7 separate regions of the Homo sapiens genome follow, and all the other regions are linked to region 7. The links are contacts of gene promoters, found by promoter capture Hi-C in blood cells and fetal thymus (Javierre and others, 2016). All regions are on one chromosome and are shown on one strand. Each heading gives the region's core, a stretch centred on a gene start or on the middle of the fragment in contact. The rest is flanking DNA. Distances are from core to core; before and after follow the strand shown. Region 1 overlaps PPP2R3A (protein phosphatase 2 regulatory subunit B''alpha). Region 2 overlaps PPP2R3A (protein phosphatase 2 regulatory subunit B''alpha). Region 3 overlaps PPP2R3A (protein phosphatase 2 regulatory subunit B''alpha). Region 4 overlaps PPP2R3A (protein phosphatase 2 regulatory subunit B''alpha). Region 5 overlaps PPP2R3A (protein phosphatase 2 regulatory subunit B''alpha). Region 6 overlaps MSL2 (MSL complex subunit 2). Region 7 holds the start of STAG1 (STAG1 cohesin complex component).

Region 1 (3,061 bases), core at 107-2,606, 780 kb after region 7:
CACCTACATTGTAGGCATGTAAGACACCTCATCCTCCCTCACCACTTCCTCTTTTTGGGCAAGCTTCTCAAAGGAATTTCCAACACTTGCCACTCCCATTTCCTTACTTTTTACCCACTTCATTTTGGTTTCTGCCTCTTCCAATCTAAAATGGTTCTTGCTGAGGTCAAAGACTCCATCTTGCTAAATTCAACAGATCATTTTTGTTCCACATCTTTACTTGATGACACCTCTCTATTTGAAACATTCTTCTCTCACCTTTTATGATGCATCTTAAACTAGAATTAGATTGTGAAGGAAACAGCTAAGACAAAAACCAAATATTGTTTAAATTACTCTTGAAAATCCTTTAAATGGCCCGTTAAATATCGCACACCTGTATACAAGTAAATAAAACTTTTCTCTCTCTCATTTAATAAAAAACATGGTAGAGCGCATTCAGTTAAGTTTGCACACTTTAATTCTGAGCAAGGCGTCATTCCACTGTACCTCTGTGGCCACTTCTCATTCTCTTCCTGGGCTATCCTCCTCTACTAAACTTCAAAATGCTGGGCCTGAGCCCTTTTTTCTTAATCTCTGTCAGTGGTTCTCAACTTCCACAGCTAAGTGGAATCACCTCAGATTCGTCCAAGGCAGCAAATCAGATCAAGTAAACAGAAAAAGAAATTTCTTAGGTGGACCACAGCATTAGCATTTTTTAATCATTCAGTGATTCCAATGTGCAACCAAGATGAGAACACTGTTCTATGCTCTCTTCCCAGACCAGGGATCACATGCTCAAAAGCCTACAGTCAGAGAAATAAATGAGCAAAGTGGGCCAGGCATAATTTTAGGGAGTGGTGGGCTCTGTAGTGAAATAGAAGAGCTGCGATCATCTGTGACTTAGCTCCAATTATTGCTGCCATATTGGAAAACCAACTCAGTAGTGCTACATTTTCTCATTTTTAAAGAGAAACCCCAAATCTGGATTTTTCATGAGAAATCTTCAGATTTTAAAATATTGGCAACTAATTCAAAATTAAACAATAACAAAACCACTGTATGGGCAAAACATCTGTGAGTCAGATTCAGCTGTAGGCTACTGCTTTGCAACCACTGCCCTAGATAATTTCATCCACAGCCTTTAATTTACACCTAAAAATTCGTGCCTCCAGTTTAGCCCTCTGCTCTTGGCTCTGAATTAGAATTGTCAAATGCTTATGTGACCTCTCACTTGAAAATCTCAGCAGTCCCAATGTAAACTGTGATTTAAACTCATCTCAAAACTATTTATCCTTAAATGTTCTTTACTTCAGGTAACACCACCACCATTCACTGGTTGGGCAAGCTAGAACCCTGGGAGTCATCTTAGGATCTCATTTCTCCCTCTCAACCCTTGTACCATATCAACCACCAAATCCTATCAATTACGCCTCCTAAATATATCTCATGAATATATGTACTTCTCTCCATCTCCAATACGACCATTCTTTTCTCTCAGCCACCACCTTTTCTCTCCTATGTTATCCACAGTAACCTTAATTAGGGGCAGCTGTCTCCCACACTCAATCTTGTTTCCTTCCAAAGCATTCTAATATGACCAGAATATTTTATAATCACAAATAATTACAAATATATACACATATACACGCATTACATAAATATATACTTATGTAAATATATGTGTTTGTGTGTTTATTTCACCCAACAATTCCATTTCTAGGAATTTACCCTATAAATATATTTATTCACATATGAAACAGCATATTCGTAGCACTGTTTACGGTAAATTACTGGAAACAATCTAAATGTCTGTCAGTGGGGGAATGGTTAAATAATCTATGGTATATCCATACAGTGAAATACTGTACAGTCATTCAAAAAAATAAGGAAACTATATACTGAAGTGGAAAGATTCCCAAGACATTTTTAAGAAAACAGAGTGTACAGTATGCTACCATTTGTGTAAAACAGTAAGAGGAAAGATATGCATTTCCTTGAATGCCCACAAAAAATGTCTACAATGATATACAAAACTAGTATCAGTGGTTATTCCTTTGGAAGACAGGGAAAATGGTAGCTGGGGGAGGGAGCAGAACCCACCAAAAATGCTCTGATTTGCTTGGAGGAGGGCCCAGGCGTCGGTCTTAAGTTCTGGTGGTTCTGATGAGAGTGTTGGACTGAGAACCACTGCTTAGTGGACAGCCTTTGCCTATTTTCCTAGCTTCATTTTGTGTCATCACTCTCCGTGTTCCTGGCTTCTGGGTTCCCAAAAGCGGCCCTGTTCCTTTCTTCCTCAAGGTATTCACATCTGTTCCTTCTGCCCGGAATATTGTTCCCGTGAGCTTCACCTAGTAACTCCTGTTAATCCTTCACCGTCCACCTCAAAGGTCACTTCCCCATGGAAACTTTCCCCAGTTTCCAAACTACATCAGGACATCTGTTTTATGCACTCAGAGCTGCCTGTACTTCTCCCAGAAATTAACACAATCGTAATGAGATAAATGTATATTTATGCATGTATACATCTGTCACCCTCCTTAGACTATAAGGTCCAGGCATGCAAAGTTGTTTTTACTAATCTATTTCCATACCTAATCTAGTGTCCAGTTGGCAAAACAGGCCTTCAGAAATCTGTTAAATAAATAACTGTTCCCGCCCTCAAGCTTAGTATAGTAAACACCTAAGCAAATGAGGACAATGCTGCGTCACTAGTGTTAAGGCAGCAGTCTGCTCACAACAGTGGTTCTTAACTAAGGGTGATTTTGGTCCTCCTGGGGGACATTTGCGATGTCTGTAAGCATTTTTGATGTTCACAACTGTGTGTGTGGAGTGCTACTGGTATCTATTCCTCAGTAAAGGTTAGAAATGCTGCTAAACATCCTACGCTGCACATGATAGCCCTCCACAACTAGAAATTACCTGGCCTAAAATGTCAACAGAACTACAAATGAGAAACTCTGACTCAGAGGACGATAACACTCAAAAGAGCTGTCAATTGCACTTCTGAGGGTGGTGATTTTTAAATATCTGTTTTCTTTTTGGGGGATGGGGGGTGTCAAGCAAAGCTTCAGGGCAGAGG
Region 2 (3,562 bases), core at 53-2,552, 620 kb after region 7:
ATTTCTACACCAAAAGTCTGCCGGGATTTTGATAGGGATTATGTTAAATCCGTACATCGATTTGGGGATAATTGACATTTTAACAACGCTGAGCCTTCTAATCTTTCCAGTTATTTAGGTCTTCTTTAATTTCTCTCAGCATTGTTTTTTTAGTTTCATTGTACAAGTATTATTATTTTATTATATTTATTCCTATTTTTCATATTCTTTTTGATATGACTGTGAATAGAATTATTCTTTTTATTTCAATTTCATCACTGGAGGGGCTCATTGCTAGTATATAGAAATACTGTACTACTGATTTTTGTGTATTGAGCTTGTATTCTGAGATTGTGCTAATTCACTTAATAGCACTGGTATCTTTTATGTAGATTCCTTAGTTTTCAATTTGTAGGTCACATCATCTGTGAATATACAGTTTTACATCTTCCTTTCCAATCTGAATGCCTTTAAAAAGTTTTTTTCTTGCCTTACTGCCCTGGCTAGGACCCCCCAGTTACAATTGTTGAGTAGAAACAGTGAGGAATAGAAACATCCTTGCCTGGTTCTTGATCTCAGGAAAAAGGCATTCGTTTTTTTTTTATTATACTTAAAGTTCTAGGGTACATGTGCACAACGTGCAGATTTGATACATAGGTATACATGTGCCATGGTGGTTTGCTGCAGCCATCAACTCATCATTTACATTAGGTATCTCTCCCAATGCTATCCCTCCCCCAGCCCCCCCCACCCCCTGACAGGCCCTGGTGTGTGATGTTCCCCGCCCTGTGTCCATATGTTCTCATTGTTCAATTCCCACCTATGAGTGAGAACATGCGGTGTTTGGTTTTCTGTCCTTGTGGCAGTTTGCTGAGAATGATGGTTTTCGGCTTCATCCATGTCCCTGCAAAGGACATGAACTCATCCTTTTTTATGGCTGCATAGTATTCCATGGTGTATATGTACCACATTTTCTTAATCCAGTCTATCACTGATGGACATTTGGGTTGGTTCCAAGTCTTTGCTATTGCAAATAGTGCCACAATATGTTTATATGTGTGTATGTGTCTAAGCAGCATGATGTATAATCCTTTGGGTATATACCCAGTAATGGGATTGTTGGGTCAAATGGTAATTCTAGTTCTAGATCGTTGAGGAATCGCCACACCGTCTTCCACAATGGTTCAACTAATTTACACTCCCACCAACAGTGTAAAAGCATTCCTATTTCTCCACATCCTCTCCAGCATCTGTTGTTTCCTGACGTTTTAATGATTGCCATTCTAACTGGCATGAGATGATATCTCATTGTGGTTTTGATTTGCATTTCTCTGATGACCAGTGATGATGAGCATTTTTTCATGTGTCTGTTGGCTGCATAGGTGTCTTCTTTTGAGAAGTGTCTGTTCATATCCTTTGCCTACTTTTTGATGGGGTTGTTTTTTTCTTGTAAATTTGTTTGAGTTCTTTGTAGATTTTGGATATTAGCCCTTTGTCAGGTGGGTAGATTGCAAAAATTTTCTCCCATTCTGTAGGTTGCCTGTTCACTCTGATGGTGATGGTAGTTTCTTTTGCTGTGCAGAAGCTCTTTAGTTTAATTAGATCCCATTTGTCAATTTTGGCTTTTGTTGCCATTGCTTTTGGTGTTTTAATCATGAAGTCCTTGCCCATGCCTATGTCCTGAATGGTATTGCCTAGGTTTTCTTCTAGGGTTTTTATGGTTTTAGGTCTAACTTAATTAAGTCTTTAATCCATCTTGAATTAACTTTTGTATAAGGTGTAAGGAAGGGATCCAGTTTCAGCTTTCTGCATATGGCTAGCCAATTTTCCCAGCACCATTTATTAAATAGGGAATCCTTTCCCCATTTCTTGTTTTTGTCAGGTTTGTCAAAGATCAGATGGTTGTAGATGTGTGGTGTTATTTCTGAGGACTCTGTTGTTTCATTGGTCTATACATCTGTTTTGGTACCAGTATCATGCTGTTTTTGTTACTGAAGCCTTGTAGTATAGTTTGAAGTCAGGTAGCATGATGCCTCCTGCTTTGTTCTTTTTGCTTAGGATTGTCTTGGCAATGCAGGCTCTTTTTTGGTTCCATATGAATTTTAAAGTAGTTTTTTCCAATTTTGTGAAGAAAGTCATTGGTAGCTTGAAGGGGATGGCACTGCATCTATAAATTACTTTGGGCAGTATGGCCATTTTCATGATATTGATTCTTCCTATCCATGAGCATGGAATATTCTTCCATTTGTTTGTGTTCTCTTTTATTTCATTGAGCAGTGATTTGTAGTTCTCCTTGAAGAGGTCCTTCACATCCCTTGTAAGTGGGATTCCTAGGTATTTTATTCTCTTTATAGCAATGGTGAATGGGAGTTCACTCATTATTTGGCTGTTTGTTATTGGTAGATAGGAATGCCTGTGATTTTTGCACAATTGATTTTGTATCCTGAGACTTTGCTGAAGTTGCTTATCAGCTTAAGGAGATTTTTGGCTGAGACGATGGGGTTTTCTCAATATACAATCATGGCATCTGCAAACAGGGACAATTTGACTTCCTCTTTTCCTATCTGAATACCCTTTATTTCTTTCTCTTGCCTGACTGCCCTGGACAGAACTTCCAATACTATGTTGAATAGGAGTGGTTAGAGAGGGCATCCTTGTCTCGTGCCGGTTTTCAAAGGGAATGCTTCCAGTTTTTGCCCATTCAGTATGATACTGGTTGTGGGTCTGTCATAAAGAGCTCTTATTATTTTGAGATTATGTTCCATCAATACCTAGTTTATTGAGAGTGTTTAGCATGAAGGGCTGTTGAATTTTGTTGAAGGCCTTTTCTGCATCTATTGAGATAATCGTGTGGTTTTTGTCATTGGTTCTGTTTATGTGATGGATTACATTTATTGATTTGCGTATGTTGAACCAGGCTTGCATCCCAGGGATGAAGCTGACTTGATCATAGTGGATAAGCTTTTTGATGTACTGCTGGGTTCGGCCTGCCAGTATTTTGAGGATTTTTGCATCGATGTTCATCAGGGATACTGGCCGGAAATTCTCATTTTTTGTTGTGTCTCTGGTAGGCTTTGGCATCAGGATGATGCTGGCCTCATAAAATGAGTTAGAAAGGATTCCCTCTTTTTCTATTGATTGGAGTAGTTTCAGAAGGAATGGTACCAGCTCCTCTTTGTACCTCTGGTAGAATTTGGCTGTGAATCTGTCTGGTCCTGGACTTTTTTTGGTTGGTGGGCTATTAATTATTGCCTCAATTTCAGAGCCTGTTATTGGTCTATTCAGAGACTCAACTTCTTCCTGGTTTAGTCTTGGGAGGATGTATCTGTCCAGGAATTTATCCATTTCTTCTAGATATTCTAGTTTATTTGCATAGAGGTGTTTATAGTATTCTCTGATGGTAGTTTGTATTTCTGTGGGATCGGTGGTGATATCCCCTTTATCATTTTTTATTGCATCTATTTGATTCTTCTCTCCTTTCTTATTAGTCTTGGTAGAGGTGTATCAATTTTGTTGATTTTTTCAAAAAACCACCTCCTGGATTCATTGATTTTTTGAAGGTTTTTTTTTTTGTCTCTATCTC
Region 3 (3,143 bases), core at 371-2,870, 660 kb after region 7:
TGAATTCCTGAGCTTGGGCAATCCACCTGCCTTGGCCTCCCAAAGTACTGGGAATACTGGCATGAGTCATCACATCCAGCCAAAAATTTAAAATTTTGATGAAGTCCAATTCATTGACTTTTTCTTTTGATACTTATGCTTTTGGTGTCACATCTAAGAAACTGCCTAGCCAAGGTCGTGAAAATTTACTCCTCTATTTTCTTCTGAATTTTTTATAGCATTAGCTCATACATTTTGGGCTGTGATCCATTTGACTTAATTTTTGTAGTATGTGAACTAGGGGTCCAAAGGTAAGGTTGGTACAAAAGTAATTGCAGTTTTGGCCACCAAAAGAAATTGCAAAAACCACAATTACTTTTGCACCAACCTAATATTATTTTGTATGATATCCAGTTGTTCCGGCACTATTTATTAAAAACACTGTTTTTTTTCCCCATTGGATCGTCCTGGCATCCAGCATCCTTGTTGCAAATCAATTAGCCCTAAATGTGAGGATATATTTCTGAACTCTCAATTCAATTTTGTTTATTTTTATGTCCATCATGATACGAGTACCACACAGAGTTGTTTACTTTCACTTTGTAGTGAAATATTTTGGAATAGGGAAATATGAGTCCTACATTTTTTCTGTACTTTTTCAGCATTGTTTTGGTTACTGTGGTCCCTTTGTATTTCCATAGGAATTTAATATTCAGCTTTTCCATTTCTGGAAAAAAAATAAAAACCATCGAAAAACAAAAAAAGCTTTTGACTCAAACTAACTAATATTTTGTTAGGAATCTGTAGATCAGTTTGGGAATTACTGCCATCTTAACAATGATCCATGAACATGGGATGTCTTCATTTCATTTAGATCTTTAATATATATATTTTTTTGGTGATGGAGTTTTGCTCTTGTCACCCAGGCTGTAGTGCAATGGTGCGATCTCAGCTCACTGCAACCTCTGCCTCCTGGGTTCAAGCAATTCTCCTGCCTCAGCCTCCCATGTAGCTGGGATTATAGGCATGTATCACCACGCCTGGCTAATTTTTTACATTTTTAGTAGAGACAGGGTTTCATCATGTTGGCCAGGCTGGTCTCAAACTCCTGATCTCAGGTGATCTGCCCACCTCGGCCTCCCAAAGTGCTGAAATTACAGGTGTGAGCCACTGCAACCCAGCTGAAAATCCAAAACTTTTTGAGTACCAACAAGACACTCAAAACTCATACTCAAAGGAAATACTCACTGGAGAATTTTGGATTTCAGATTTGGGATGCTCACTGGTAAGTGTAACAAACAGTTCAAAATCTGAAAAAAATCCAAAATCTGAAACACTTCTGATCTCAAGAATTTCAGATAAGAGATACTCTACTCTGCTGGTATATGAAAAAGAGTAGCATATATATGAACTTTTAATATTTTTTTCTGGGTATTAAAATTACTGGTATTAAAATTTATTTTTCTTCTGCTCATTCATGTTTTCTAAATAAATTATTACTTTTGAAATGGAAAACAAAGTTATTTAAAAATAATCTAACAAGCTCTCCAAGAAATGGCTTATTTTTATTTCAACATCTTCTAAACAATATATTCAACATTTATTTTTTTAGAGTTGGTGTCCTGCTCACTATACCCAGGATGGAGTATAATGGCATGATCCTAGCTCACTACAGCCTCAAACTCCTGCCCTCAAGTGATCCTCCTGCCTCAGCTTCTCGAGTAGCTAGGACTACAGGTGTGCATCACCATTCCCAGCTATTTAAAACATTTATCTGTAGAGATGGAGTCTCGTTATGTTTCCCAGGCTGATTTCAAACTCCAGGCCTCAAGCAATCCCTCCTGCCTTGGCTTCCCAAAGTTCTGGCATTACAGATGTGAGCCACCATACCTGGACATATACAACATTTAGATAACTTTTCGAATCAATATTAAGATAGTTGAGTTAGCTGTACCTGCAAGTACCATCAAGGTCTATAACCCCTCCATCCCTTGGTACTGAGCACAAACTACAGTGCGTTGTGTTACACAAAGTAGGGATAAGAAGCGAGGCATCTAGATTTTTTGCCTAAACAAGACATGGAAAGAAAGAAATGTGTAAATTAATAACTCCAATCAAGCTATGTCTGGGAGTGCCAAGGAAAAGCATAGATGATTTCAACTGGCAGACTGAGGATGTGTTCTTATATACTAGTCATCCACAATTTGCTTTCCCTCTCTAATAGTAATGGTTTACCATTCAACCAGTAAGATGATAAAACAAGTAATTCATAGCATCTATTCCCATATTCCACATGAATGCTTACTAGCCCTACTTGTCATCAGCTTACATGTCACTTCACCTTTGTTTCTGTGGGTAACAGCACTTCTCTTGATATGCCATGAACATGGATTCAGTGCCAATCTCCTGAGACGGAGAGCTCCGAGACGGCAGAAACTAAGTCTAATTCATCTTAGTATTGCCACGTTGAGTTGGCCTCACTAGGTATAATATACACCATGACTTTTTCAAGCTTTGTGCATGTGTTTAACATCTTGGCAAAGGAAACTTAGAAATCATACCTGGTAGGATTCCTTTTGTCTTCTTCAGAGATCAAAAACCAAACAAAATCTGCATAGCTCATTCTTCCCTCTTTCTGTATTGTTTTTCCCCTAAAGAAAACACATGGTTATAAAATTTCCTGAGCAATTACTCAGAACCATTTATCAGGATGATAGGCTAAGAAATAAAGTAGTATGTCAGTTAAAATTTTTTAAATTATAATGCTAAATGCCTCATAAAGGGCAACCCTTCCACAGCCTATCTTATTTTCAAAGGTCTAGAGGGTGAAACCAGAAGGCATTTGCAAATATGAAGAAAAGAAATCTGGCTTTTAATATGAATGCAAATAATCACTGGGATAAAATGCTGTTACCTGTATTTAGATATAGGATTAATACTCATGTTAGGCATCAATGGAAGATACCTCAAAATAATAAGAGCCGTTATGACAAACACATAGCTAGCATTATACTGAATGGACAAAAGCTAGAAGCAATCCCCTTAAGAACAAGAACAAGACAAGGATGACCACTCTCACCACTCTATTCAACATAGTACTGGAAGTCTTAGCCAGAGCAATCAAGCAAGAGAAAGAAATAAAACACATCCAAATAGGAAAAGTC
Region 4 (3,539 bases), core at 870-3,369, 700 kb after region 7:
ACTTTTTCTGTGTATGTGTTTTTTTAACCTTTATTTTTCTTTAATGATGATCATTTTCCTCATATACCTGGTTGTCCATTCATGTTTAAGAAGGACAAGGTAGTTGATATAATTTGATATAATTTTCCTCTGTGGAAATATAAGTAGGTCTATTTTTCAACAGGTATCTTTCTTGAGTACCAAATCTGCCTCGGGGTTCTGTGCATTTAGGGTGGGTGTGTTGATTGACAGGCATTATTTTAGAGTAAACTGGTGAGACCTCCCGGGATCTCCAACTGCCAGAATAAAGAGAAATAAGGAGAATTTTAATCTGTGGCTGTCACATTAGAAGCCTTAGCATGCTTTATTGTCTTGTTAGTGTGTTTATGCTTGTGAATAAATGTCAGGCTGCACTTTATATTTGTGAACCAGGAAAGGAGTCAACTAGTGATTGTTGTGTATACCGACCTTCAGTGAATCCCCATTTCCAGTATCTCTCATTGGGTCAGTCAGTCCTGAATTTACAACTGCTCTGGGCCTTGATGAGCACAGGAGCTCACTTCACCACTTGAGCCCACACACAGCTCCTGATTCTGGGTTGTGGTTTTCTTAGCCTACTTCTGGTCACTTATTTTTTTTTCTTTTTTTTTGATCCATATAAATCCATTTATTATTAAACTATTTATTTACAATTTTAAGATCACAGAATCTTTTTTAAACTTTTATTTTAGGTTTGGGAGTAAATGTGAAGGTTTGTTACATGGGTAAACTCATGTCACAGGGCTTTGTGGTACAGATTATTTCACTACAGGTACAGGTATTAAGCCCAGTACCCAATAGTTATCTTTTCTGCTCCTCTCCCTCTTTCCACCTTCCACCCTCAAGTAGACCGCAGTGTCTGTTGTCTCCTTGTTTGTTTTCATAAGTTCTCACCATTTAGCTCCCACTTATAAGTGAGAACATGTGGTATTTGGTTTTCTGTTCCTGCATTAGTTTGCTAAGGATAATGGCCTCCAGCTCCATCCACAGTCCCACAAGACATGTGGTCACTTTCTATCTTAAAGAAATATGTTAAGATTTCTTGTACGTTGATTTTCTCTACCATTTCATTGGCTTCCGTGGATTTATTCCTTTTTAATTTCTACACTTTAACTTCAGAAGGGCTTGGGAAAGAATGGGAGGATAATGTCTCTATTTAGTTTGTCTCTTTTACCAGAAGACTCCACAAGTCCACTTCTTAAATACAAATAAGATTTCTCCTTAGATTTAAGGGAAGTATAAATGTCTGTTAACTCATAATTATGATTTTGTTGTTGTCTGTTTCTAATTTTCTTAGTCTAAACTTAATTTACATTCCTGTCAAAGCTTTTATTAAAGCTCTGATAAAATTCAGAACTGCATCAGTCAGCATAGGGTCCCCACAGGAAAAAGAATTCACTGTATGAAGCTTTCACGAAAAGATTACATGTGGAGTTGTGAGCAGGATGAAGGGAGCAAACAAGGGAATAATGAGGCACCCAGAGACTACTGACAGGAGGATACTGTTATAGTCCTGAGGGCCAAAGGAACAAGGGGAGGAGGAGAGCCTAGTAGGCACTAGGACCACAGACAAGGGGCTGTCCAGCAGAAGCTGTATTGTAGAGAGACATAGTTACTGTGCCGAGGCAGAGAGCAGGGAAGAAATGCCAGCTTTTCTTTCCTCTGTCCTCCCATTTACTGGCAATGCTTCCCACTGCCCAGATCCAACCAAAAGCTAGTCAGCAAGAGAGCCCCAAAGACGCACTTTGTAGGGTCAGAGCAAGGCCAAGAATGGATTGAGAGAGTGAGGATGGAGAGCAGTAGAGAACTGGTAATAAAACCTAATGTTTTATTACAATGCAGTTCAAATATTGAAGATTTGAGATTTCACAAAACATAGGAATATTTAATGTTGGATATTATCAGGTAAAATGGTCTTAATTAAATGCCAAAAACTATTAAGAATCTTCATTCTCATGAGTATTTTTTTTAGGGGAACAAAACCATGTAGCAGGTGAGTCTAAGGATAATCAAAGCCATTATGCAAATTAGACAAGCCCAAGGGCCCTGAGCATAAAATAAAATCAGAACCAAACTTCACATTTTAAACATGGAAGATTGTTACTATAATTAAAAGTCTATGTACTATGGTGTTATTAGTCAGGGTAGTGGTTATTGTTGGGTGGCAGTGACTGGGATGGAGCATGACAGGCTTTGCAGGTGCTGGTAATACTGTTTTTGGATCTGTGTGCTAGTTATACGGATATGCCCACATTGTGAAAATTCATTGACTAGGACACCTGTGATTTGGGTGTTTTGTGTGATTATATTTCAGCAAAAATCTTTTTAAAAAATCATGGCATGGCCAGGTGTGGTGGCTCATGCCTGTAATCCCAGCACTTTGGGAGGCTGAGGCAGGTGGATCACCGGAGGTCAGGAGTTCGAGACCAACCTGGCCAACATGGTGAAACCCAGTCTCTACTAAAAACACAAAAATTACCCGGGTGTGGTGGTGGGTGCCTGTAATCCCTGCTACTTGGGAGGCTGAGGCAGGACAATCAATTGAACCCAGGAGGCGGAGGCTGCAGTGAGCCAAGATCGCACCATTGCACTCCAGCCTGGGCGACAAGAGCGAGACTCCGTCTCCAAAAAAACAAACAACAACAAAACATGGCAGCCATGAATACAACTTAAAAAAACCTCAACTATTTCCATGTATTTTATGCCCTTCTTTAGGTATCCATACTAAGAGCTAACAAGGATTTACTGTAACACCTAAAATAATGATGCACATTCAACAGGCAGGAAAAGCTTATCTTAGCTTCAAAGAATTTGTGATCTGCTTAGAAAAACCAAATATTTAGATACGAAAACAAGAATATTAACAAGCAATATCTCAGGCTATGAAGAATGCTATAGTAGAAACAGGTGCAATACTGATATGTAACTGATTCCCATGGGAAGGCCTAGATAGAAACACTCCCCAGGTGGGCTCTTTCTGTTAGACATCTCTCTCTCTCTAAAACCTTAACAAAGGTCAACTAGGCCAAATGACTGTGGACCCTGCATTTAAGCCTACAATACGCACAGTGCCATAAAAGCCATGAAGATTTTGAGGTCACTTCTCTTCTCTGCCCTGAAGTAGTGAGTAGGGAGCTCACCCCTACTTGAAAGGGAAGCAGACAATACAAGCAAGGAGAATTGAAGGCAGAGATAGGAAAGCATAAGGGAACATGGCAGCAGGAGATTTCTGCAGAGTAGAAGACCTCTTAGTGTCAGGAAAAAGAAAGAGAAGTCTGTGGGTGATAGGAGCAAAGGGACCCTGCTGCCTGGCAACACCCTAGGGGTGCAGCTAAAACCTTAAAAGAAAACAGCTGTGTGTGCATCTAGGCAGACGGGCCATGGGTATCTTCACCAAAGGTTCTGGGGCTTGACACGTGGCACAGAAGCAGCAAAGACCTCTGGATCTGAAGGGAATCTGCTAGCCAAAGATGGCTGATGTCTCAGCAGTAACTCCCAACCCTAATGCTTTGGTACCGTGT
Region 5 (3,566 bases), core at 218-2,717, 640 kb after region 7:
GTCTGTTTTTGTATCAGCACCATGCTGTTTTGGTTACTGCAGCCTTGTAGTATAGTTTGAATTGGGTAGTGTGATGCTCCTGGCTTTGTTGTTTTGCTTTGGGTTGCTCTGGCTATTCGGGCTTTTTTTGTTTCATATGATTTTTTTTTTCTTTTGTTGCCCAGGTTGGAGTGCAGTGGTGTGATCCCAGCTCACTGCAACCTCCACCTCCTGGGCTCAAGCGATTTTCCTGCCTCAGCCTCCCGAGTAGCTGGCATTACAGGTGTCTGCCACCACACCTGGCTCATTTTTGTAGTTTTAGTAGAGACGGGGTTTTATCATGTTGGCCAGGCTGGTCTTGAACTCCTGACCTCAGGTGATCCACCTGCCTCAGCCTCCCAAAGTGCTGGGATTACAGGCATGAGCCACCGCGCCCAGCTTCATATGAATTTTGTAATAGTTTTTTTCAAATTCTTTGAAAAATGATGTTGGTAGTATGATAGGAATAGCACTGAATCTGTAGATTGCTTTGGGTAGTATGCCCATGTTAACAATATTGATTCTTCCTGTCCACGAGCACAATGGGCAGCATGGTCATTTTAACAATATTGATTCTTGCTATCCATGAGCATAGAATGTTTTTCCATTTTTTAATGTTGTCTGTGATTTCTTTTGGCAGTGATTTGTAATTACTGTTGTAGAGAGATCTTTCACATCCCTTATTCCCAGGTATCTTATTCTTTTTGTGGCTATTGCAAATGGGATTGTGCTCTTCATTTGGCTCTCAGCTTGAATGCTGTTGGTGTATAGAAATGCTGCTGATTTTTGTACACTGATTTTGTATCCTGAAACCTTACTGAAGTCGTTTATCAGATCTAGGAGCCTTTGGGTAGATACTATGGGTTTTCTAGGTATAGAATTATATCATCTGCAAAGACGGATAGCTTGACTTTCTCTCTTCCTATTTTGATGAGTTTTCTTTCTGTTCCCTGATTGCTCTGGATAGGACTTCCATCACTATGTTGAATAGCAGTGGTGAGAATGGGCATATTTATCTTCTTCTGGGTCTCAAGGGGAATGCTTCCAGCTTTTGCCCATTCATTGTGACGCTGGCTGTGGGTTTGTCATAGATGGCCCTTATTATTTTGAGGTATGTTCCTTAGATGCCAGTTTGTTGAGGGTTTTTAACATGAAGGGGTGCTGAATTTTATCAAAAGCCTTTTCTGTGTCCATTAAGATGACCATGTGGTTTTTGTTTTTTGTTCTATTCATGTGACGAATTGCATTTATTGGTTTGCATATGTTGAACCAACCTCGTATCCCAGGAATAAAGCCTACATGATTGTGGTGGATTAGCTTTTTGATGTGCTGCTGAATTTAATTTGCTACTATTTTGTTGTGGGTTTTTGTGTGTATGTTCATCAAGGATATTGGCCTGAAGTTTTTTTTATTGTGTCTGCCAGGTTTTAGTATCAGAATGATGCTATCCTCACAGAATGAGTTAGAGAGGAGTCCCTCCTTGATTTTTTGAAATAATTTCAGCAGGATTGGTACCAGCTCTTCTTTATACATCTGGAAGAATTTGGCTGTGAATCTGTCTAGTCCAGGGTTTTATCTGATTGGTAGTTTTTTTTTTTTAATTACTGATCAAGTTCAGAACTCATTACTGGTCTGTTCAGTGTTTCGGTTTATTCCTGGTTCAATCTTAGGAGGTTGTATGTTTTCAGGAATTTATCAATTTCTTCTAAGTTTTCTAGTTTGTATGTATGAAGAAGTTTGGCTTATTGCTACTTTGAGCGGAGTTTAGGTAACTTGCCACCAGAAGAATGCTGATTAATGTACTTTCAAGTAGTTTGAGTTTTTACTCAATTTTTTTCAGTTAATAACCTTTTTCTGAAACTGATATGAAAGTTTTCCATTTTATTTTTATTCTTCTAGTGAAAATATCTTAAATTTTTAACAGACATACTTTAACCATTGTTGGAGAAATACAACTTTATCAATGTCTATATTTCTCTACTCTTATACAAATAAGAACCATAGGATATTACTCCAATTCCTTTTTCTCTCTTATATATCTGTGATCAATACTTATTTAGTCCTAAGAATAATTTTTACTATTTTTATTGCTCACAATTGCTTCTTTCCTCCCACTGTTTCCTCTAGGATCCATTTACCTTCTTGCTGAAGAATATCATTTAATATTTGTTTCAGAGATATTCTGTGGTATACTTTTTGCACCTCTTTTTACAAGCCTGAAAATGTCTTTATTTGTCCCTCACATTTGAGTAAGAACAGAATTTTAGGTTTGTAGTTATTTTTTTTGCAGTACTTGAATAATTTTGTTCCATTTCTTTTTGTGTACACTTTATGGATAATGTTTTTTTCTTTCTGGTAGATCTTCAGACCTTTCCTATCTTTCGTATTCTGAAATTTCACTCACAGAGGTTGACAACTATAGTCTGTGGGCCAAACCTATCTTGCCATCTGCTTTGGTACAGCCTGTGAGCTAAAAATAGTTTTACATTTTTAAGTTTGAAAAACAAAAGAATATTTGTGACATGAAAATAATATGAAATGAATAGCTCAGTGTCTGTTACTAAAGTTTTATTGGAACATAGCCACATACACTTGCTTACATATTATCAATGGCTGCTTAGTTGTGGCAGAGGCCCACAAAGCCTCAAGTATTTATAACTGGTTAGAAAAAAATTGCTGATTCCTTCTCCTGTGTATCTTTTTATTTGCTCAAACAACTAAAATTCTCGGAATTATTAAGCTATTATTTCTATTGCTTCCAAAGAGGATTTCTTACGCCAGTATCCCAAATCAAAAACTTTTCAGTTTTTTCCATTCTATTATTCAGTCCAATGGCTGCATTTTTTTTTTAATAAAACTTTCATTTCTAAGAAACTGGTTCTAGTGTTGGTTTAGGAGTGTGATATTCTCTCTTATTCCTTTGAAAATAGTAAATATGCTCATTTTGATGTCTTGTTCTGATTGTGTCTCCTTCCAAGGGTATAAGTTCTTCCATTTGTTGAGTATTTCATTGATATTTCTTAACTGTTTGATATTTGTCCACCTTTTAAGTAGTTGAGAACAGACTGCTGCTTCTGTTCTCACTGGCTGCTTAGGAAGGGGCGGTGGGGTTGTTGGGGTTTTTAATGAGAACAGGGATATGAGTTGGGGACAGAATGAGATGGGATGTGATATGTTGCTGAGGTGTAGCTATTTCAGTGACTGGGCTTTCTCTGTTCCAAGCTCCATAGTCAGGGCTTTTGTCTTTCCTTTAGGGGTAGGGTGGGATATACAGGAGTTGACCTACCTAGACACATCTTCTTCTGGTCTTCTTCTTGCTATTGGTTTCAGTCAAATTCAGGTAGAGATCATTAAGTGCTACTCCCATTACCTGTCTAATTATTTTATACATTCTACTATGAAGAATCTAAGCTGCTGGCTCCTTCATTTTGATCCCATCTGCTTTCCTTCTTTTAGTGGCCCGCTGAAAGTTTCTCTTCTAAGTGATATTCTGTATTTCTTACTTTTATGTGGTTTGAAACTGAAAACTATAGCATACTTTCAGTTTA
Region 6 (3,187 bases), core at 130-2,629, 600 kb after region 7:
GGGTTTCACCATGTTGGCCAGGCTAGTCTCAAAGTCCTGACCTCAGGTGATCTGCCCACCTCAGCCCCCCAAAGTGCTGGGGTTACAGGCATGAGCCACCACACCTGGCCTTTTTTTTTTTGAGACTAAGTCTCGCTCTATTGCTTAGGCTGGATTGCAGTGGTGTGATCTCAGCTCACTGCTACCTCAGTTTCCTGGGTTCAAGTGATGCTCCTGCCTCAGCCTCCCTAGCAGCTGGGACTACAGGTGCGTACCACCATGCCCGGTTAATTTTTTTGTATTTTTAATAGAAATGGGGTTTTACCATGTTGGCCAGGCTGGCCTTGAACTCCTGACCTCAGGTGATCCGCCCACCTCAGCCTCCCAAAGTGCTGGGATTATAGGCATGAGCCACTGTGTCCGGCCTGAAATGACATTTTGATCTTTTTTCTTTAAAGTTTATGATTAGTATATATGCATTAAAAACTGGTTGAAAAAATTTTTTTTTCTGTGAAGATACTTTTCTACTGATGAATGCCCTCAAGACTATCTTTTATGAGGGCAGGGACTAAATCTCTCTTACTCATATCTGTTTCCCCAGTGTCCAGCAAAAAATAATCAATATGATTTTGTTCAGCATGTTGTAGCATTGCCATGTTGTGTTAGGTTGAGGTCCAAAGGGTTTTGGTTTTGTTTTTGAGACAGGGTCTCGCTTTGTCACCCAGGCGGGAGTGCAGTGGCAAGATCATAGTTCACCGTAGCCTGAACTCTAGGGCTCAAGCCATCACCTCAGCCTCCTGAATAGCTGGGATTACAGGCACACACCACCACACCTGGCTATCCAAAGGGTTTTAACCCTAGTTTGTGCTTCTGGTGTCTGATCTTCACCTCTTTAACTTTATAGCCTTTGGAGGAAGAGGATAAGAAGGTGGACCAGAACGTATTGCTTGGGGAGAGAGACACAGAATCAAGGATGATTTTGGTTTGAGATAACTGAATGGGGAATATGGCATGAAATCAAGCGAGCTAATTGAAGATTCTTCCGTTTCTTCTAAGATATATTTTCTGTTATCTGGTCTAGTGAGTTTAATTCATCTCAATTTTGATAGACTACTTATGTCATCTAAACTTCAGTTTATGAAATGGTAAATTTATTTTACTAAAATCTTTGCTTTCCTCCTTCTCCCCCTTAGGACATTTGCTACAAGATCCTATTGCACCCACCAACTCCACCTGCCAACATTATGTCTGCAAAACTTGTAAAGGCAAGAAAATGATGATGAAACCTTCCTGTAGCTGGTGCAAAGACTATGAGCAGTTTGAGGAAAACAAGCAGTTAAGCATCCTAGTGAACTGCTACAAAAAACTATGCGAGTATATAACACAGACTACACTGGCACGGGATATAATAGAAGCAGTTGACTGTTCTTCTGATATTTTGGCTTTGCTTAATGATGGATCATTGTTTTGTGAGGAGACAGAAAAACCCTCAGATTCATCCTTTACTTTGTGTTTGACACATTCCCCTTTACCTTCAACCTCAGAACCCACAACTGATCCTCAAGCTAGTTTATCTCCAATGTCTGAAAGCACCCTCAGCATTGCTATTGGCAGTTCTGTTATCAATGGTTTGCCTACTTATAATGGGCTTTCAATAGATAGATTTGGTATAAATATTCCTTCACCTGAACATTCAAATACGATTGACGTATGTAATACTGTTGACATAAAAACTGAGGATCTGTCTGACAGCCTGCCACCCGTTTGTGACACAGTAGCCACTGACTTATGTTCCACAGGCATTGATATCTGCAGTTTCAGTGAAGATATAAAACCTGGAGACTCTCTGTTACTGAGTGTTGAGGAAGTACTCCGCAGCTTAGAAACTGTTTCAAATACAGAGGTCTGTTGCCCTAATTTGCAGCCGAACTTGGAAGCCACTGTATCCAATGGACCTTTTCTGCAGCTTTCTTCCCAGTCTCTTAGCCATAATGTTTTTATGTCCACCAGTCCTGCACTTCATGGGTTATCATGTACAGCAGCAACTCCGAAGATAGCAAAATTGAATAGAAAACGATCCAGATCAGAGAGTGACAGTGAGAAAGTTCAGCCACTTCCAATTTCTACCATTATCCGAGGCCCAACACTGGGGGCATCTGCTCCTGTGACAGTGAAACGGGAGAGCAAAATTTCTCTTCAACCTATAGCAACTGTTCCCAATGGAGGCACAACACCTAAAATCAGCAAAACTGTACTTTTATCTACTAAAAGCATGAAAAAGAGTCATGAACATGGATCCAAGAAATCTCACTCTAAAACCAAGCCAGGTATTCTTAAAAAAGACAAAGCAGTAAAGGAAAAGATTCCTAGTCATCATTTTATGCCAGGAAGTCCTACCAAGACTGTGTACAAAAAACCCCAGGAAAAGAAAGGGTGTAAATGTGGGCGTGCTACTCAAAATCCAAGTGTTCTTACATGCCGAGGCCAACGCTGCCCTTGCTACTCTAACCGCAAAGCCTGCTTAGATTGTATATGTCGTGGCTGCCAAAACTCCTATATGGCCAATGGGGAGAAGAAGCTGGAGGCATTTGCCGTGCCAGAAAAGGCCTTGGAGCAGACCAGGCTCACTTTGGGCATTAACGTGACTAGCATTGCTGTGCGTAACGCTAGTACCAGCACCAGTGTAATAAATGTCACAGGGTCCCCAGTAACGACGTTTTTAGCTGCCAGTACACATGATGATAAAAGTTTGGATGAAGCTATAGACATGAGATTCGACTGTTAAATCAGTGGGTCTTTTAAACCTACTCCTGGTAGGGAAATAGCTACAGTTTTACGGCAGCTATGGTTCTGTTGGTTTAACTTGCCGGAGCTCCTGCATATAGATCACTTGTATCAAGTGTTTTCATTGCTAAGTTATATGTGTTAGTGTCGGGGAAATAGTTTGCAGATAATGGAGGAGTAACCCTACAACTATATGTCCTTAGTTCTTACAGAACCTCATAGTTTGAGAACAAAGCTGATGCAACTGATTTATACAAAATGAACTTTGGCAAGAAAAATAACATTAACCTCATTGTTTATGGCCATGCTTTGTGCATAATCAAAGTTTATGATTAAATGTAAGGAAGTGGTATCTAGTCAGTCCATAAAGATTGTGCTAATTTTTTTGTGGAAAAGTAGCCATTAGTTCAGGAAACTCAGTGCT
Region 7 (3,388 bases), core at 791-3,290:
TCAATGAAAGGAACGTTGATAGCATAGCAACTGGAGGGAGTAACATCACTGAATTAAAAAAAAAAAAAAGACAAAAGAAACTTTTTTTTTTTGAGACAGAGTCTCACTCTTATCGCCCAAGCTGGAGTGCAGTGGCGTGATCTCGGCTCACTGCAACCTTCACCTCCCGGGTTCGAGAGATTCTCCTGCCTCAGCCTCCCGAGTAGCTGGCATTACAGGCGCACACCAGCACGCCTGGCTGTTTGTATTTTTAGTAGAGACAGGGTTTCACCATGTTGGCCAGGGTAGTCTCGAACTCCTGACCTCATGTTATCTGCCCGCCTCTGCCTCACAACGTGCTGGTATTACAGGTGTGAGCCACCGCACCCAGCCAAGACAACAGAAACTTCTGAGAAACAGAAAGGAAGAAGACAGTGGATAAGAACATATTTACATTATAAGGCGCTAGGAAAGTAGTGGTGGAAGGAGAAGGTGGGAAGGGATGGCATAGTTTCAGGCAGAGGGAGTGGCTTTGGAGAGAAGGGTTCTGGGTTAATTTGGTTAGAAGTTTTGGGATCACGAACAGGAGGTGGTCACAGATATTTTATAATGGAGGCAAGGTCAAACCGGAATTGGAGTCCCATAGCTCTGAGCCCAGGAAACTGGATGAATTTATCTATTAGTATGGACTGGGACTGGCATCTTTAACAACATGGAAAGCTTGAAACAGTCTTTGTGGAAAATAGGAGATCAGCCAGAGATTAGAAGAAAACGCAAGAAAATTATAAGTAGGAGTCCAGTCACGAATTCATATCCAATCTGGTCAGTTATGACTTCCTCCAGCGAAAAGCCACACATCTTGCAAACCCTTGAGAGAGAAAACACAAATAGGGGTAACCTACTGGAGACAGGCCCTTAAGACTATAAAGTAGTTGAGCGATTCCATACTGAAATAGAGTTGGCTATAGCGATAGAGAAGTTAGTCATATATGGGGCTAATGATCCAGGAGAGTAAGGATTCACTTTTGTGGTGAAAAGTTGTAAGCAGGTGAAAGGTAGGGATCCATGGCCACGGACGGGCAGGTGGAGATCAGGGAAGAGGCGACGTTAAACATAAATAGTTTGTTAATGATTTCACCTTACTGATTATTTCTCTTTTGGCATCTAGAAGGCTAAGATTCTCATGTGTATTTCAGAGCTACTGAAAGTAGTCCTAGGTTGTGGAGGGAGAAATCCACTTTCACAGCTGAGTCTATCTTCTCAGTCTAGTTATATTCTCCTCTCACAAACTAGCCAATGCTGCCGCCTTATGCAAAGCCGACACCACGGAAAGATGTGCTTTACAGAGGCAGGATGACGCCAATCGGCCTAGGGCCGGCGGTGTTTCGTCTAGATTAATGGCGAGGGAAGTCCCCAATAGTCCTTTTGAAACCTTTTCACTCTTGCCTGGTGAAAGCGCTTGTCAGCCGTAAATCGCGAATACAATGCTAAGCTCTGAGGCCCTTGCTAAATCCAAGTAGGAGCAGGGATCTGCGCGGCCTCACCCTCGGGTTTCCGCAGGGCGTCTCGAGAGCTGCGGATGGGGGCAGCAGGAGCCGGGCGGGAACAGAGGAAAGCGCCGGCCCTGAGACCTAGGGAGGAGCCTCGGTGAAGGAACCCGGGGCGGGTTCCTGCCTAGATCTCCAAGAAGCTCCAAAAATGGCGGGCGGCAACTCGGCGAGCCGGACGCGCAGGCGCCACCGTGGCCGTCCTTCCGCCAGCCGCGGGCGGCCCAAGAACCGTCCACAGCGCCCTTATCCAGAAGCCTACGCCTCTCGCGATTGGCTGAACTGCGCGAGCGCTCCGTGTGGGGGCGGGGCCGCCACGCAGCGGCCACGTTTCCCGCCCCGCTGGTGCGCGTGCGCGCAATCCCCACTGGAAAGCGTTTGCGCGCGCCCCTGCCGCGGCCCCTAGCTCGCGCCTCAGCTCCCTCCCCTTTCCGGGCAGGCCCGTCCCGTCAGCAAGGCAGTGAGCACCGCGGCCAGCAGAGGGCGGTCCGGACCCAAGTCTGCAGCGGCGCCATTGGCGTGTGGAAAATGCCACCAGATGGCGGGTTAGGATTGCAGCTCCGTTGAAGGCGCGGCCCCCGCTCCCGAACCCCCGGCGACCACCCCGTAACAACCCCCCCACATCGGGAATAACACACCGGAGACTTTTGGGGGGAAACTAGGTCGATGGTCGGCGGCGCCCGGATGGGCAGCTGAGGTGAGTGCGGGCGGCGGCGACGGCGGCGGGGGGCGGGAAAGAGGGGGAATGCGGCGGCAGCGGCGCGGGGGCTGGAAGCGCCGATCCAAGATGGAGGCCGGGCGAGAGCGAGAGAGCGCGAGCGGCGAGCGGGCGGGCCGGGCGCGGGCCCCGTGCGGGGGAGGGAGGCCGCGCGGGCCTGTGCGGGGTGCGGCGGTCGTGGGCCGTCCGAGTGCCCGGAGAGACGTCTGTGGGCGCGGTGGGCACCCCGGCGTCTTCGTCGCTTGCCACCCCTCCCGCGGGCACCAAAAATTTTGCCCCCGCCCGCCCGGGCACTACGGCGACAGGCGCGGAAGCCTTTGTGGCGCGCTCGGGCCCGCCGCCAAGCCCGCCCTCCGCCCCCCCCCGCCCGGGCTCTCGGGAGTCGCCCGCGCCCAGCGGGGCCGGGCCGACGCGGGCTGGCGCGAATGCCTTCCGCCGCCTGCCGACCTGCGTTTCTGCGGTGTTTTAGCGGCGGCGGCGTCACATGACAACGAGTTCATTTCAGCGGAGGGGCCTGGGGGGTCGCTCGGCGGGGCGGCTGGCCCAGGCTTCTTGTTGGCGGGGTGGGGCAGCGGGGTGGCGGCTGGGGGAGATGCATCAATGCTGGGCTTTCCAGCTATCTGCCCTCTCAGCCCCCGACGGGGGCCTCCTTGTGAAACGTGTCCAGGCCTAAGCACTGCCCCGCTAGTTTGCCAGTCCCCTGAGAGACGAGGCCAATAAAAGTTGTTTTCCCTCCTTTCTCGAGGTGGGGGCGGGGTGGGAAACTAGAGTGCTTGGAGTTGGACCTGAGCCCCGTTTGCAGGGTCCGAACTGGGTTCTTCTTGTATGGTATGGGTACTAAGAAATTTTCAGGTTTTAGGATTGTCACGTCACCCCCATCTACCCACATTTGAAATGTTATCTGTCGATTCTCTTCACATTGCAGGGAATCGTGCTCCGGGAGTATAAGTCATAGGATAGTTTTGGACACTTACAGACAAAAAAAAAACAAAAAAAAAAAACGCAATTTGTCATAAAAAAAAATTATTTGCTGTTAAAGTTGGTGTTAAGATGGATAGAGTTTATTCTCGTGATTCTGACTAGAAAGACTTGCATCTTCGCAAAAATAGTGTTTACTTGAGAAAGTATCTGAATTGGCACAAAG

Evidence for each region. The method cuts DNA at HindIII sites, captures the fragments that hold promoters and counts their contacts. A CHiCAGO score of 5 or more calls a contact.
Region 1: a fragment that was not itself captured here is called in contact with the fragment with the promoter of STAG1 in region 7 in 1 of 17 cell types (M1 macrophages); the score reaches 5.5 in M1 macrophages.
Region 2: a contact is called between a fragment that was not itself captured here and the fragment with the promoter of STAG1 in region 7, in 3 of 17 cell types (erythroblasts, fetal thymus and non-activated CD4 T cells). The highest score is 6.8, in erythroblasts.
Region 3: a fragment that was not itself captured here is called in contact with the fragment with the promoter of STAG1 in region 7 in 16 of 17 cell types (fetal thymus, non-activated CD4 T cells, erythroblasts and 13 more); the score reaches 14.7 in fetal thymus.
Region 4: a fragment that was not itself captured here is called in contact with the fragment with the promoter of STAG1 in region 7 in 8 of 17 cell types (naive B cells, erythroblasts, fetal thymus and 5 more); the score reaches 6.9 in naive B cells.
Region 5: a contact is called between a fragment that was not itself captured here and the fragment with the promoter of STAG1 in region 7, in 5 of 17 cell types (erythroblasts, total B cells, fetal thymus and 2 more). The highest score is 5.7, in erythroblasts.
Region 6: a fragment that was not itself captured here is called in contact with the fragment with the promoter of STAG1 in region 7 in 12 of 17 cell types (non-activated CD4 T cells, total CD4 T cells, fetal thymus and 9 more); the score reaches 11.5 in non-activated CD4 T cells.

What each region holds. Positions count from the first base shown.
Region 1 is chr3:135,967,694-135,970,754 of GRCh38, reverse strand. The region is part of intron 1 of PPP2R3A (protein phosphatase 2 regulatory subunit B''alpha); the gene reads right to left. Among named protein-coding and RNA genes, the nearest start is that of PPP2R3A, 3.5 kb to the right of the region's middle. The HindIII fragment of the contact is 2,582 bases long and covers 66-2,647 here.
Region 2 is chr3:136,129,184-136,132,745 of GRCh38, reverse strand. All of the region lies in intron 13 of PPP2R3A (protein phosphatase 2 regulatory subunit B''alpha), which reads right to left. Among named protein-coding and RNA genes, the nearest start is that of MSL2, 65 kb to the left of the region's middle. The HindIII fragment of the contact is 3,281 bases long and covers 1-2,942 here.
Region 3 is chr3:136,090,065-136,093,207 of GRCh38, reverse strand. It overlaps PPP2R3A (protein phosphatase 2 regulatory subunit B''alpha), which reads right to left. Exons shown (of 14, transcript NM_002718.5): 10 at 2,541-2,630. Among named protein-coding and RNA genes, the nearest start is that of MSL2, 100 kb to the left of the region's middle. The HindIII fragment of the contact is 1,747 bases long and covers 747-2,493 here.
Region 4 is chr3:136,050,451-136,053,989 of GRCh38, reverse strand. The region is part of intron 5 of PPP2R3A (protein phosphatase 2 regulatory subunit B''alpha); the gene reads right to left. Among named protein-coding and RNA genes, the nearest start is that of PPP2R3A, 86 kb to the right of the region's middle. The HindIII fragment of the contact is 1,382 bases long and covers 1,429-2,810 here.
Region 5 is chr3:136,109,704-136,113,269 of GRCh38, reverse strand. All of the region lies in intron 13 of PPP2R3A (protein phosphatase 2 regulatory subunit B''alpha), which reads right to left. Among named protein-coding and RNA genes, the nearest start is that of MSL2, 85 kb to the left of the region's middle. The HindIII fragment of the contact is 6,501 bases long and covers 1-3,566 here.
Region 6 is chr3:136,150,724-136,153,910 of GRCh38, reverse strand. MSL2 (MSL complex subunit 2) reads left to right here. Exons shown (of 2, transcript NM_018133.4): 2 at 1,173-3,187. The coding sequence ends at 2,764. Among named protein-coding and RNA genes, the nearest start is that of MSL2, 44 kb to the left of the region's middle. The HindIII fragment of the contact is 9,097 bases long and covers 1-3,187 here.
Region 7 is chr3:136,751,030-136,754,417 of GRCh38, reverse strand. STAG1 (STAG1 cohesin complex component) reads left to right here and starts at 2,040. Exons shown (of 34, transcript NM_005862.3): 1 at 2,040-2,223. STAG1-DT (STAG1 divergent transcript) reads right to left here and starts at 1,747. Exons shown (of 1, transcript NR_185911.1): 1 at 1-1,747. RefSeq lists enhancers at 732-1,663, 1,457-1,776, 1,664-2,595 and silencers at 1,787-2,016, 2,337-2,716. The HindIII fragment of the contact is 7,208 bases long and covers 702-3,388 here.